Regions from separate parts of the Homo sapiens genome. Here all the other regions are linked to region 1. Evidence: promoter capture Hi-C in 16 types of primary human blood cells and fetal thymus (Javierre and others, 2016). All regions are on one chromosome and are shown on one strand. The core of a region is centred on a gene start or on the middle of the fragment in contact, and the rest is flanking DNA. Distances in the headings are between cores, read along the strand shown.

Region 1 (3,588 bases), core at 523-3,022:
GTTCATGGAATGGCTTTAAAATTATAAATAAGCAAAACTACAGTCATAAAAACAATGAATACAATAAGAAATGTTGATATTGGAAAAGCTTACAACTAGAATCATGTATTTTTACAAAAATCTTATTCTGCTCACATTATATAATGGTAATAAAGCCACTGAGAGTTGAGGTAGAAGTGCAAACAAGATTTTTATAGATATTTCAGTGGGAGGAATTTAATAATTCCTGACTAGGAGAAAGATGCAGCCACATCAAGGGTGGCGGCCCCTTTTAGGAAAAAGAAAACAGAACACTAGTACTTCATTAGGCTCACGTTAAATTGCATGAAGTAAAAATCGTACTGCCAAGCTAGTATAAATTTATGCACTGCATAGCTAGAGACTAAAAAAGATATCTGCACCTACAAACTATTGTTTCCCTTTTGTGGTTGCTAATTTTCATCCTGGCACAGCCTTCTCTAGGAACAACTACGGTGCCAGGTAAGGTGAAAGTGGAAAACAGATCCTTTCCCAAAAAACGGAACTTTCCCCTTTTCCACTAAACATAGCTTCTTCACCACTCTAACATGAAAGCTTTGATATAACAGGGAAACTTAAAAAGCTGCAGGAACTTTTGTTATTCTAAAAGTGAGTAGTACGTCAGGACAGCCATTTTACAACCTTCATTTCCAAACACCTATTACACCATACATCTTGCAATTTTAAAAGTATCTTTTCTTTAGGGTAAAAAAAGTACCACTTACACATTCATCATTTAAGTCATTACTGTTTCAAAGGACAGTTATTAAGCTTCTTAATACAGCTGTCAAAATCAATTTGTAGATAGCCTCCAATTTCAAATTTCTACATTTACATCTACTGATAGACCATCCTGATTAGCGATTAAGATAACAGACTTAAACTCTAAGCAATCCTTGCAAAATCCAGTTGATTTTTAAAATCAGTAAGCAACACGCGATCATTTTTAAAGAAAGTCATTCCGAAAATAGCTTGATTGTGGTGGCCAATCTGCTCCTCAGCAGCTGTTCCCTGTTGCTTGTACGCATGGGAGTGGAGGTAGAAGGGCAAAACCCACAAGCCCACGCAAAACTCGTACAGTCACAAACATTATGTAAACATGTCGTGAGGCCAAGAGGCCCCAAGGAGAAAGAACCGCCGGGAGGAAGAGAACGGCAAGCTGCATGTAAGGACGATGGGCGCTGTGTGCGGACGCAGGAGACCCGGGCAGAGGGGCCCAGGGCGGGACAAAGACTGGCCCATCTCGGGCAGCGCCGGCCAGCGCCCAGAACCAGTGAAAGGCAGCCGTCCCGGGGCAGCCGACTGCAGCACTCAAGGGCCCTCAAACGCCACAGCTTAACAGGCGAGGCAAACGCTCCCCTGAATGTAAGACCCTTCCCTTCCCGCCCCTTGTAACGGGCTCCTGCCGCCCCTAACGGGATCCTCGGACGCTTGAGGAGCCGCCGTCGCCTGCTCCCTACCCGGGTCCCGCAGGGCGCCTGGGCGGGCAGCTGTTGGGGTTAGAACCGCGCCGCCGCTGCCTCTCGGCTTCAAACGGCCGGGCAGGCGCCGAGAGAGCGGGCGAGCCCGGCGTCTCTCCCGTAGGCGCGTCAGGCAGCTCGGCGCTCCCAGCCTCCGTTCCCGCCCCTGCAGTTCGGGGCCGCGCACCCTCACGCCACCTACCCGGTCCCACACCATCCCAGACGCCTCGGGCGCTCGGGCCTTCGGCCGAAGCGGCACTGCCTCCTGTCCGGGGCCTGAAATGGCTGCGGAACAAAGAGAATCTGGGCTTCACCGAGCGCCGGTCCGATTGGCCGGGGGGCGGAGCCCGCGGCGGGAACATTCGGCGGCGGTCGCCTTGGCAACGGCGGCGGGGCTAGGAAAATTGCTGCCTGGGTCGGCTGGGCCTGTGGGCCTGCGTCCGACAGCGCGCGGCCGTGCTTTCTAAGCGGGCTCGGCAGCACCAGACTTCACCGGCCCGGCGCGGGGCTCACAAGTGCTCGCACTCCCTGCGGCCGGCGCGCTGACCGGAGCCTCTGGGTCTCGCACGCAGCAGCTGCAGACGCTGCCCGGCGCGGTGGGGCTGTGAGCAAAACGGCCCGCCGGTGTGGTTGCCCAGACTGTGCTGGGCCCTCCTAGGTGGATGGCCCTGCCCCAGCCTAACTTCTGTACCCCAGCATAACCTCCAAAGTAACAGCCGTGCCCTGGGAGCCTGTTCAACACTGAACATATCCCACAATAACACTGTTCCAGCGTCGCTGGTAAAAAGCAGAAATGGCTTCGGTAGGTAGACGCCGGTGGATGGCTGCCCGCTTAGAACAAGATAGGCTTTTGACGTATGTTGTATCTGGCGTATAAACTACTATGTAATTAGAATTCAGTGATTTATAAAATGTTTACGCCTCCAGGTGTTCAATCCTATAAAACTGTAGTTTCTTGCTCTTAGAAATAACAAGCCTTTCTCTCCCTAACCTGCCATCATGAGAAATTAAAATGTCCTGTATTTTCTGTACGGCAAATGATTCAAAATGGGAGTGGTGGACGTTTTTATACCCAACTGCAACAAGGGTAATGAGATAAATATCAGTTTCCTTCCCTCAGATTATTCTTATATGTAAAATTTACTGTATAAAAATACTTAAAATTTGCATAGCTAGCTGATTTTTATTTTCTAAGGTGATGATGCCCGTGATAATATTCCTCACATGATCAGTGTGAGTAGAAATACCAGCAGTTCCGACTATCTTACTGGAAGTGCTGTATATATTTTGAAAATGTGTGACAGTTGTTGCCTTCCTGTCATAGTTTAGGTAAAATTACAGTACATAATACTAGAAAATGTCTAAATTTTTACTAAGGTAATTTATTTGTTCTTCTAAACGTGTTAACAATTTTCATTTGAATTACAGTCATTTTGCAGGAACAACTAGTTTATTTAACTTAAAATTTGAGACTAAAAGTACCATTTTTTAATCATTGGGAAATTGAACTTAGCAAGGGAAAATATAGATAACTAAAATATTCATGATTTCAACATGTTATAATATTAATTTGATAGTAATTGGATACAGTAGTGTATATCAAAAAGAGCCCCCCCCCCCAAATAGGAGTAGATTACCAAGAAAAAAATGTAATATAAACTTTTCTGAATGGTAGTTTATCTGCAGGAAAATATACCCAGAAAAAGTATATTTATCCAAATAACAAATGGCTTATTTCTGCATTTGAAAAGTTACATCGTGGACTAGGATCTATACAAATCAGAAGATGTGTAGTATTTGCATTCTACTTTGCTAAAGGAAAAAACACAAATATTTCTAAAATCCAAAAGATTAGCAAATAATGACAGATGTAAATACTACTGACTAAGCAATTAGTAGGAGTTCACTTGATTAATAGTTTGGAAATAGCTGAAATGAATTGAAGAAAAAGTAACATATTATTTAGCATAAGAGGATTTATTGGCCAAAACATTTTGAAAGAAAAAAATGTTGATTATCAGATGTTGTAAAATTGAGATTAAGCAAATTAAATATGTATTCTTTTGTAAAAATTAAAGTGAATGAAAATACTAATATAAAATAGTTCTGT
Region 2 (3,588 bases), core at 502-3,001, 2.0 Mb before region 1:
TTCTTTTACACAGCACAAAGACCCTGTTTCATCCAAATGTTCACTTACTTAAATGATTCTTGCACCATTAAGTTTATTCACATGATGTAAGTTAAATTTTGGTCTTGAATGATATGAGGCATCAGGGCTTACATCTCTAATAATCTCATTAGGGAATGGTCCAAAATCTACTGGACCACAAAAGGGATGAACTGATTACAGTATCTTTTTTCCTTGACATAATTTGCTTTTTTAATAACACCTTCATTTCACATTTAAAAAATTTAAGTCAGTTTTATTGAAGCATAATTTACACACAGTAAAACCTGTCCTTTTTAGGTATACAGTTCTAAGTTTTTCCTAACTACACAGTTCTGTAACCACCACAATCAAAATACAAAGAATTTCCATTTCCCCCTAAAATTCCCTATGTAACTTTTAAGTCAATCCTCTTTCCCAACCCTCAGTTTGATACCTATCCCTACAGTTTTGCCTTTCCCAGAATGAAACAGGGATCAACAGTAGTACATAGCCTTTTGAATCTGGTTTCTTGCTTTTGGGATTCACCCAATTTGCTGCAGGTATAGGAACTTCAATCCTTTTTATTGTTGAGTAGTATGCTATTGTATGGATACACCACTGTTTACCCGCTGACCAGATGATAGGTATCAGGGTTGTTCCCAGTTTTGGGTGATTACGAATAAATCTGCAATAAACAACTGCATGCAAGTCTTCATGTGGACGTGTGTTTACTGCCAGACCGTTTTCCAAAAGTGCATTATTTTTCTTTTCACCAGCAATGTATGGGATGCTTTTTGCATTTTAGACACGTTTTAAACACGCGGCCAGGCGTGAGTCTATTCGTATTTTAAGGCTGCAAAAATAAAAATGATACAAAGCCAAGTCCAGCACAGAGAGCAATGTTAAGTAACAACCAACAAGGTGTGCTGCTACCAACTGCTATCACATAAACTTTGCAGCAATCACATGAAGGGTGTATGGAATGCCATTTTGCAAAGAAACGCAGATTATAGAGACGTAACACAAAGAGAAAGGACCTGGCAGTTAGATCTGGGCCGTTAAGCCCGGCTTCGCAATTCATTAGCTGTCTGGTCTTTGGCAAGGACGCCTTCAGTTTCCTCAGCAGTAAAATGAAGGGGGCGGGACTGACATCTAAGACTGTACAAGGGACAACCATATTCCCATTAGGCTCTGGGGCTGATAACCACGCTTGTGGTGAAATCAGGAATTTTTAGGACTCTTAGCGGTGGATCAAAAAGAAAAAAGAAAACAGGACAGAGTAAAATCTTGCTCCAAAGCTTGTGTTCTGGCAAATACCGTCTGTGTCTCGAATGTGAAGTTGTTTCCACTCCTCAGAGCCCACCCCACGGGTCTACCATCCTTTTCTCTTGGCAGTTCTCATTTCCGCCTACCACCGCTCACCCCCTACCCCAGCGCCCCAGAGTCCTCAGGTCCCACTAACTCAGACGCTGTGTGTCGCGAGCGTCCGAGGCATCCTCCTTACCATGGTGACGGCCGCAGAGCCGCCAGGAGCAGCCGCTGGAGTGCGAAAACGCTCTCAATTTTCGGGTCTCAAAGACCCACAAGCCCACACCACGCAGGCCGGGACAGGAAAGAGTCACCCTTTAAAACGGCCGAGTGAAGAGCAAGAACCACGCAGCGGTTCCGAGCCTCTGTTTTCCGCTTTTAGCTAGGAGGACGGAAGTTGCTGGCAGGCGGCATTTGGCCGGTACACCGCCGGAAGTGTGGAGGTGTGGCTGCCCGAGGCGGTAGAGCGGAGAAAGCCTATTTTCTTTTCGTTTAGATACATTGCCTTTTGCCTAGGCTGGCGTCGAGACTTGAGGCCGTTGCAGACTTTGGCGCGGCTCGCGCCTCCTGCTTCAAGAGCCCAGCGGTGAGAGCTGGCCTGCGGCACGCGGCCTAATGCCAGGTGAGTACTGCTCCGAGCTGTGAGACATCGCGCGCCTGTGACCCTGTCACAGCGCTGGGTACCGCTGACCTTTCAGGCTGCGACGGACACAGCCAGCCACGGAAGAGGACAACAGGGCCTCCGGACTCCCCTCGGTGTTCGCTCAGTATGGAAGTTTTTCTCTATCATTCGGCGAAGTCGACTCATCTTTGTTCCGGTCACTCTGTGTAATGTGTGCATGATTGTGAAGGATACTGAGGAATGAAAACTTAGTGTACAGAAAAATGGAACTACTGGGGCTTTGCAGCTGTTAGAAAAGAAGAAGATAACATTCTGGTTTTTTGGAGGTACAGGACTGATTCCAGAAATTTCTGAGGCATTTTGGTGCACCGAATCAAATGCTGAGTGGACTTGTATTTAGTGGCCCCCTAGTGTCAAGAAGTAATTAACTACCAGAAAGTACGTCTACTTAAATACACTATCAGGTTTACCCTTTTACTGCACAGTTGCAGAAGTTCCCTTAATTACTTCACAGCTTGCAGCGTGATTCAGTTGATGAACAAAAAGAACTGTACCAAAAGAATACTTTCATTAATTCTTAGTGCTTGTATTTGAGGCAGTATTTTGTTTTTGTTTTTGTTTTTATGGGTATTTTGAGACGGCATCTCGCCCAGTCGCCCAGGCTGGAGTGCAGGGGCACGAGCTCGGCTCACCGCAGCCTCGACCTCCCGGGATCAAGCGATCCTCCGACCTCAGCCTCAAAAGTAGCGAGCTACAGGCTCGCGCCACGAAGCCTGGCTGATTTTTGTAGTTTTTGTAGAGATGAGGTTTCACCGTGTTGCCCAGGCTGGTCTCGAACTCCCGGGTACGAGCGATCCACCCGCCTCGGCCTCCCAAAGTGTTGGGATTACAGGCTTGAGCCACAGCGCCCGGCTTTGAGGCAGTTTTTGTTTTGTTTTGAGACGGAGTTTCAATCTTGTCGCACAGGCTGGAGTGCAAATGCGCCATCTCGTCTCACTGCAACCTCTGCCTCCCGGGTTCAAGCGATTCTCCAGGTTCAGCCTCCCAAGTAGCTGGAATTATAGGCGCTCGCCACCACACCCAGCTAATATTTTTGTATTTTTAGTAGAGATGGGGTTTCACCATGTTGGTCGGGCTGGTTTCGAACTCCTGACTTCAGGTGATCCACCTGCCTCGGCCTCCCAAAGTGCTGGAATTACAGGCGTGAGCCACCGAGCCCCGCCTTTGAAGCAGTTTTTTAAGGCTCCATTTTCTAAGGTGATCTCATCATTCTCTTTAAAACCAGAAATAGTAACTAGCATTTGTATATTTTAGGTACAGTACGTTATATAATCTCTTTGCCTTTAATGCGCCCCTCCCCGCCGTCCCTCAATCCCCCGAATTTCCTCCCTCATCTACTTCAGGTCTTTGCTTAAATGTCACTGTTTGAATGAGGCCTTCCTTGATCTCTTTACTTACAGTTCTAACTGTCCCAATTCCTCCTTCCTGCTTCATTCTTCTCTACAGCACCCTATCATCATGGGAGAGACTATGTATTGTATTCGTTACTTTTGTTTGTTGTCTGTATCCCCTGACTACGGTAGAGGCAGTATGAGGGCAGAGATTGTTGTCTTTTGTTCACTGCATTAACGCTGATATCTAGAAAGCAGTGGGTAGGC
Region 3 (3,588 bases), core at 376-2,875, 1.2 Mb after region 1:
CACTTATCTACTTAAATATTTTAATGGACAACCTGCCAAATGGAATCTAAATGTGGCTTTTGCATGGAAGATCCTCCTCTATCTGGCCCCATAATCAATCAATCCCATCACCAGACACTATTCAATGAATTCCATGTCCTAGACATGGAATTCAAGTCCTCACACCAGATATACACTTTCATAACTCAGTACCTATGTTCTTGTAACTCTCTTGGTTTATACAGTCTTACCTTCCATCCTGCACCCTGAACTTGGCCAGCTCTTACCCAAGATTCATCTCACCCATTACTTCCTATCGGTAGCTTTCTGTAACCACCTTCTCAAGCTTTAGACAACCCTTCTTACACTGTACCACAGTTACCTGCTTTCTTGTCCATCTTCCCTACAAAATTATTAGTTCCATTCCTACGCATCCATGCCAAATATCTAAAATAGTGCCTAGACCACAATAACCACTTAATAATTCTGAATTAAACATTCTGGACTGACAAACAATTGTGTGTTGTTTGCACTATTTAGATGTTATCTGTATAGGCTTAGAAATCGTGGGAACACAGTGAAATTTTCCAGCTCTGATATTTCGCAAGTTTTGAGTTTTTTGGCCTTATGATGCCTCCTAATTCCAAGAAAAGCCACTCAAAGATACTGTGGGATATTTTCTATTAACATAACCAACTTTTTTTTTTTTTTTTTTTTGAGACAGAGTTCGCTCTTGTTGCCAAGGCTGGAGTGCAATGGCACGATCTCAGCTCACTGCAACCTCCGCCTCCCAAGTTCAAGCGATTCCCCTGCCTCAGCCTCCCAGGTAGCTGGGATTACAGGCGCGCGCCACCATGCCCGGCTAATTTTTGTATTCTTAGTAGAGATGGGGTTTCACCACGTTGGCCAGGCTGTTCTCGAACTCCTGATCTCAGGTAATCCACCCGCCAGGGCCTCCCAAAGCGCTGGGATTACAGGCGTGAGCCACTGGGCTCGGCCATCATAATCAACTTTTAAACTCAAATTTCCTAAGCACAGCGCCCCTCGTTGGGCTGCTCTAGGCCAGTGGTTCCCAAAGCTGGCTGCCAAAAGTCCCCTAATGAGTTCACTAACAATATAAACACAGCGACTCCACCTGAGACCCACAAGGTCCAGAGTAGGGCTCAGGCAGCTATTCAGCTAGCTCCCCAGGTGGCAATTCTAAACCAGGCTTTAAGAACCACTGATTTCAAAGACACAAAGTACAGTGCCAGCTCTAAAAGTGAACTAAACTTTCTTGTATCTGTTAGGCTTTTCTTCTTCAAACTTCACGTGCGTCACAGAATCAACTGGGGCTCCGGACAAGAGAGCAGCAGTTGTTGAAGCGTGCCCCTCCTCCACTTGCTTCCTAGCCTGGCACCGGCGGCCAGGCCACCGGGGCGCTCAGCCTACCTGGTAGAGGGCAGAGCCCAAGTCCGGCTGGGTGCCCAGCGAGGCCACCGAGTCCCCGTGATAGGCGCGCGGCCCGGCGGGAGAGGCGCGGGCACACGGCCGCAGGGCTAACCTCAGGACGGCCCACATGGCGGCGGGCACCGAGCGAGAGAGCGGCCCACGCTGGCCTGGAGCCGGTGCTTTCCCCTGCCGCTTCCCTGGCTGGGGCGGAAGCTGAGCTCAGGTCCTTGCAGCCCCAGAGAAGGTTTCTCTGATTCTCAGGCCTGTCCACACACGTGCCTAAGCGCGCCGCCCGCGATTGGTCAAGCCGCGCCACGCCCCCTGACCCAGCCAATAAGGGACAGAGCCTCAGCCCCGCGAGGTCGCGTCTAGTCCCGAGCGCAGGAGAGCAGGTCTCCCCGGCGGATCGACCCTCACGAAGCGGTGCGGCAGTGAGAGAGCTGCGGTTGGGCTTGGATTGGTGTTGTGTTGACACAGCGATAGATAATATCACGATAGTGACTGTACCTAAGGCAGGAGAATAAGTCTGGAAGCAGGGAACCTAAGGCTGTCTCACGCTGACTTCCTAGAGCTAAACTGAAAGGAAAACCCTAACTTTCCATGCCTAAGTAACAAAAGGACCAAAGGCTACTCCCTTTGCAAACCCCCCCACCTTTTCCGCAGGGCAGATAGGAAATTGGCTGTCCCCGACAAATCAGACTTACTGCTGGTGGAGGCTTGCTTTGCCAAGTTTGAACCTTAACTCCAGCCTCTGAATGGTTGCTGTCCACAACCAATCAGACTGATTGGGGGTCCAGTCTTCGTTTGCATAGAAGTATAACTTTGTAATTTCACCCTAGCCTCTGACTGCTTGCTTCTTGCAACCAATCGGGTTTGAGGTGAGCATAAAATGGCCAATAGGAAACTTCTAGTGGGTATTTGGACCCAAGAAGATTCTATATCCGGGCCCTTGAGCTCTGCTCGGTCCGCTCCCACATTGTGGAGTGCACTTTCGTTTTCGGTAAATCCCTGCTTTCGTTCTTTCGTTGCCTTGTTCTTTCTTTGCTTTGCTGGGCGTTTTGTCCAATTCTTTGTTCACAATGCCAAGAACCTGGACAACTTGCAGTCACAACCCCCAGTGACACACCAACAACATGAGTGAATCGCATCTAACACGTGCTTGCGAACAGCACAACAAGCCTGTTGTCCTTTCACTGGAGACCTTAAACATTCTTCTGATTATTTTCGCTATGTAGTTATTTTTATTTTTTACTTTATTTCATTTTTTGAGACAGGGCCTCACTCTGTCGCCCAGGCTGCAATGCAGTGGCACGATCACAGCTCGCTGAATCCTTGACCTCCCACCTCAGCCTTTCCAGTAGCTGAGACTACAGGTTTGTGCCACCAAGCCCGGCTAATTTTTTATTTTTGTAGGGGTTTCACCATGTTGGCTATGCTGGTCTTGAACTCCTGGACTCAAGCGATCTGCCCGCCACAGCCTCCCAAAGTGCTGGGATTACAGACATGAGCCACCACACCAGGCACTATGTAGTGACAGATTGTGGACATCAGCACTGTGGTCTTAAATAAAGGACTCCAAATATACCCATAAAAATTAAAACATTCTATACAAAATGCCTTGAACTTAAGGTTTTTCATTCACATATTTATTGAGCACTTACTACTTCTACTCCATTGGTTGCTTAGTGGGGCAGAGTAAAGGGGGAGGATGGGGTAGAGAAAGGGTGCGTCTACACCTGGAGGTAAACTTAGGTTCAGACTTCAAGGTACTTATAAGAAAATAATACAAATGGCCACATGATTTCTTACTGAACTGTGTAGGACAGACATTAAAGGAACAGAATGCAATTGGGAAAGGGTTGCAGCTGAGCCTTGCAGAAGCGTTGAGAGTGGACTGAGCAATGAACATGGCCAGGCTTTGTGCAAATGGAGGAGAGCATGAGCTAAACTGCAAAGGTATGATTTACACTGTGCTTGCCTCCCATGGTCAACAGAAAAAAAGGCCAGTAAAAACTGACTTTTCATATGTATCAGGGTATCAGAAGAGAGGGTTTGATATTTTAATTGCCACACTTTATTTTTCTCTAAATAGTTCTTCAATGATGCAAAGTACTTAAAATCACCACCCGAAGACAGAAAAGACACAATAGGATATGATTCCTTGCTTTCTTTAAAAGT

The links. Contacts are between HindIII fragments. The CHiCAGO score rates a contact against its expected background, and 5 or more counts as called.
Region 2: the fragment with the promoter of GFM2 here is called in contact with the fragment with the promoter of TNPO1 in region 1 in 1 of 17 cell types (total B cells); the score reaches 5.6 in total B cells.
Region 3: a contact is called between the fragment with the promoter of MCCC2 here and the fragment with the promoter of TNPO1 in region 1, in 5 of 17 cell types (total B cells, naive CD8 T cells, total CD4 T cells and 2 more). The highest score is 7.9, in total B cells.

What each region holds. Positions count from the first base shown.
Region 1 is chr5:72,814,845-72,818,432 of GRCh38, reverse strand. TNPO1 (transportin 1) reads right to left here and starts at 1,772. Exons shown (of 25, transcript NM_002270.4): 1 at 1,681-1,772. The coding sequence starts at 1,695. It overlaps TNPO1-DT (TNPO1 divergent transcript), which reads left to right and starts at 1,885. Exons shown (of 9, transcript NR_186518.1): 1 at 1,885-2,280. RefSeq lists enhancers at 996-1,045, 2,126-2,205 and silencers at 1,506-1,725, 1,766-1,865. The HindIII fragment of the contact is 3,194 bases long and covers 792-3,588 here.
Region 2 is chr5:74,765,280-74,768,867 of GRCh38, reverse strand. It overlaps GFM2 (GTP dependent ribosome recycling factor mitochondrial 2), which reads left to right and starts at 1,751. Exons shown (of 21, transcript NM_032380.5): 1 at 1,751-1,930. NSA2 (NSA2 ribosome biogenesis factor) reads right to left here and starts at 1,619. Exons shown (of 6, transcript NM_014886.6): 1 at 1,505-1,619. The coding sequence starts at 1,507. RefSeq lists an enhancer at 1,599-2,038. The HindIII fragment of the contact is 3,173 bases long and covers 1,301-3,588 here.
Region 3 is chr5:71,585,377-71,588,964 of GRCh38, reverse strand. It overlaps MCCC2 (methylcrotonyl-CoA carboxylase subunit 2), which reads right to left and starts at 1,625. Exons shown (of 17, transcript NM_022132.5): 1 at 1,411-1,625. The coding sequence starts at 1,539. RefSeq lists an enhancer at 1,180-1,966. The HindIII fragment of the contact is 6,273 bases long and covers 328-3,588 here.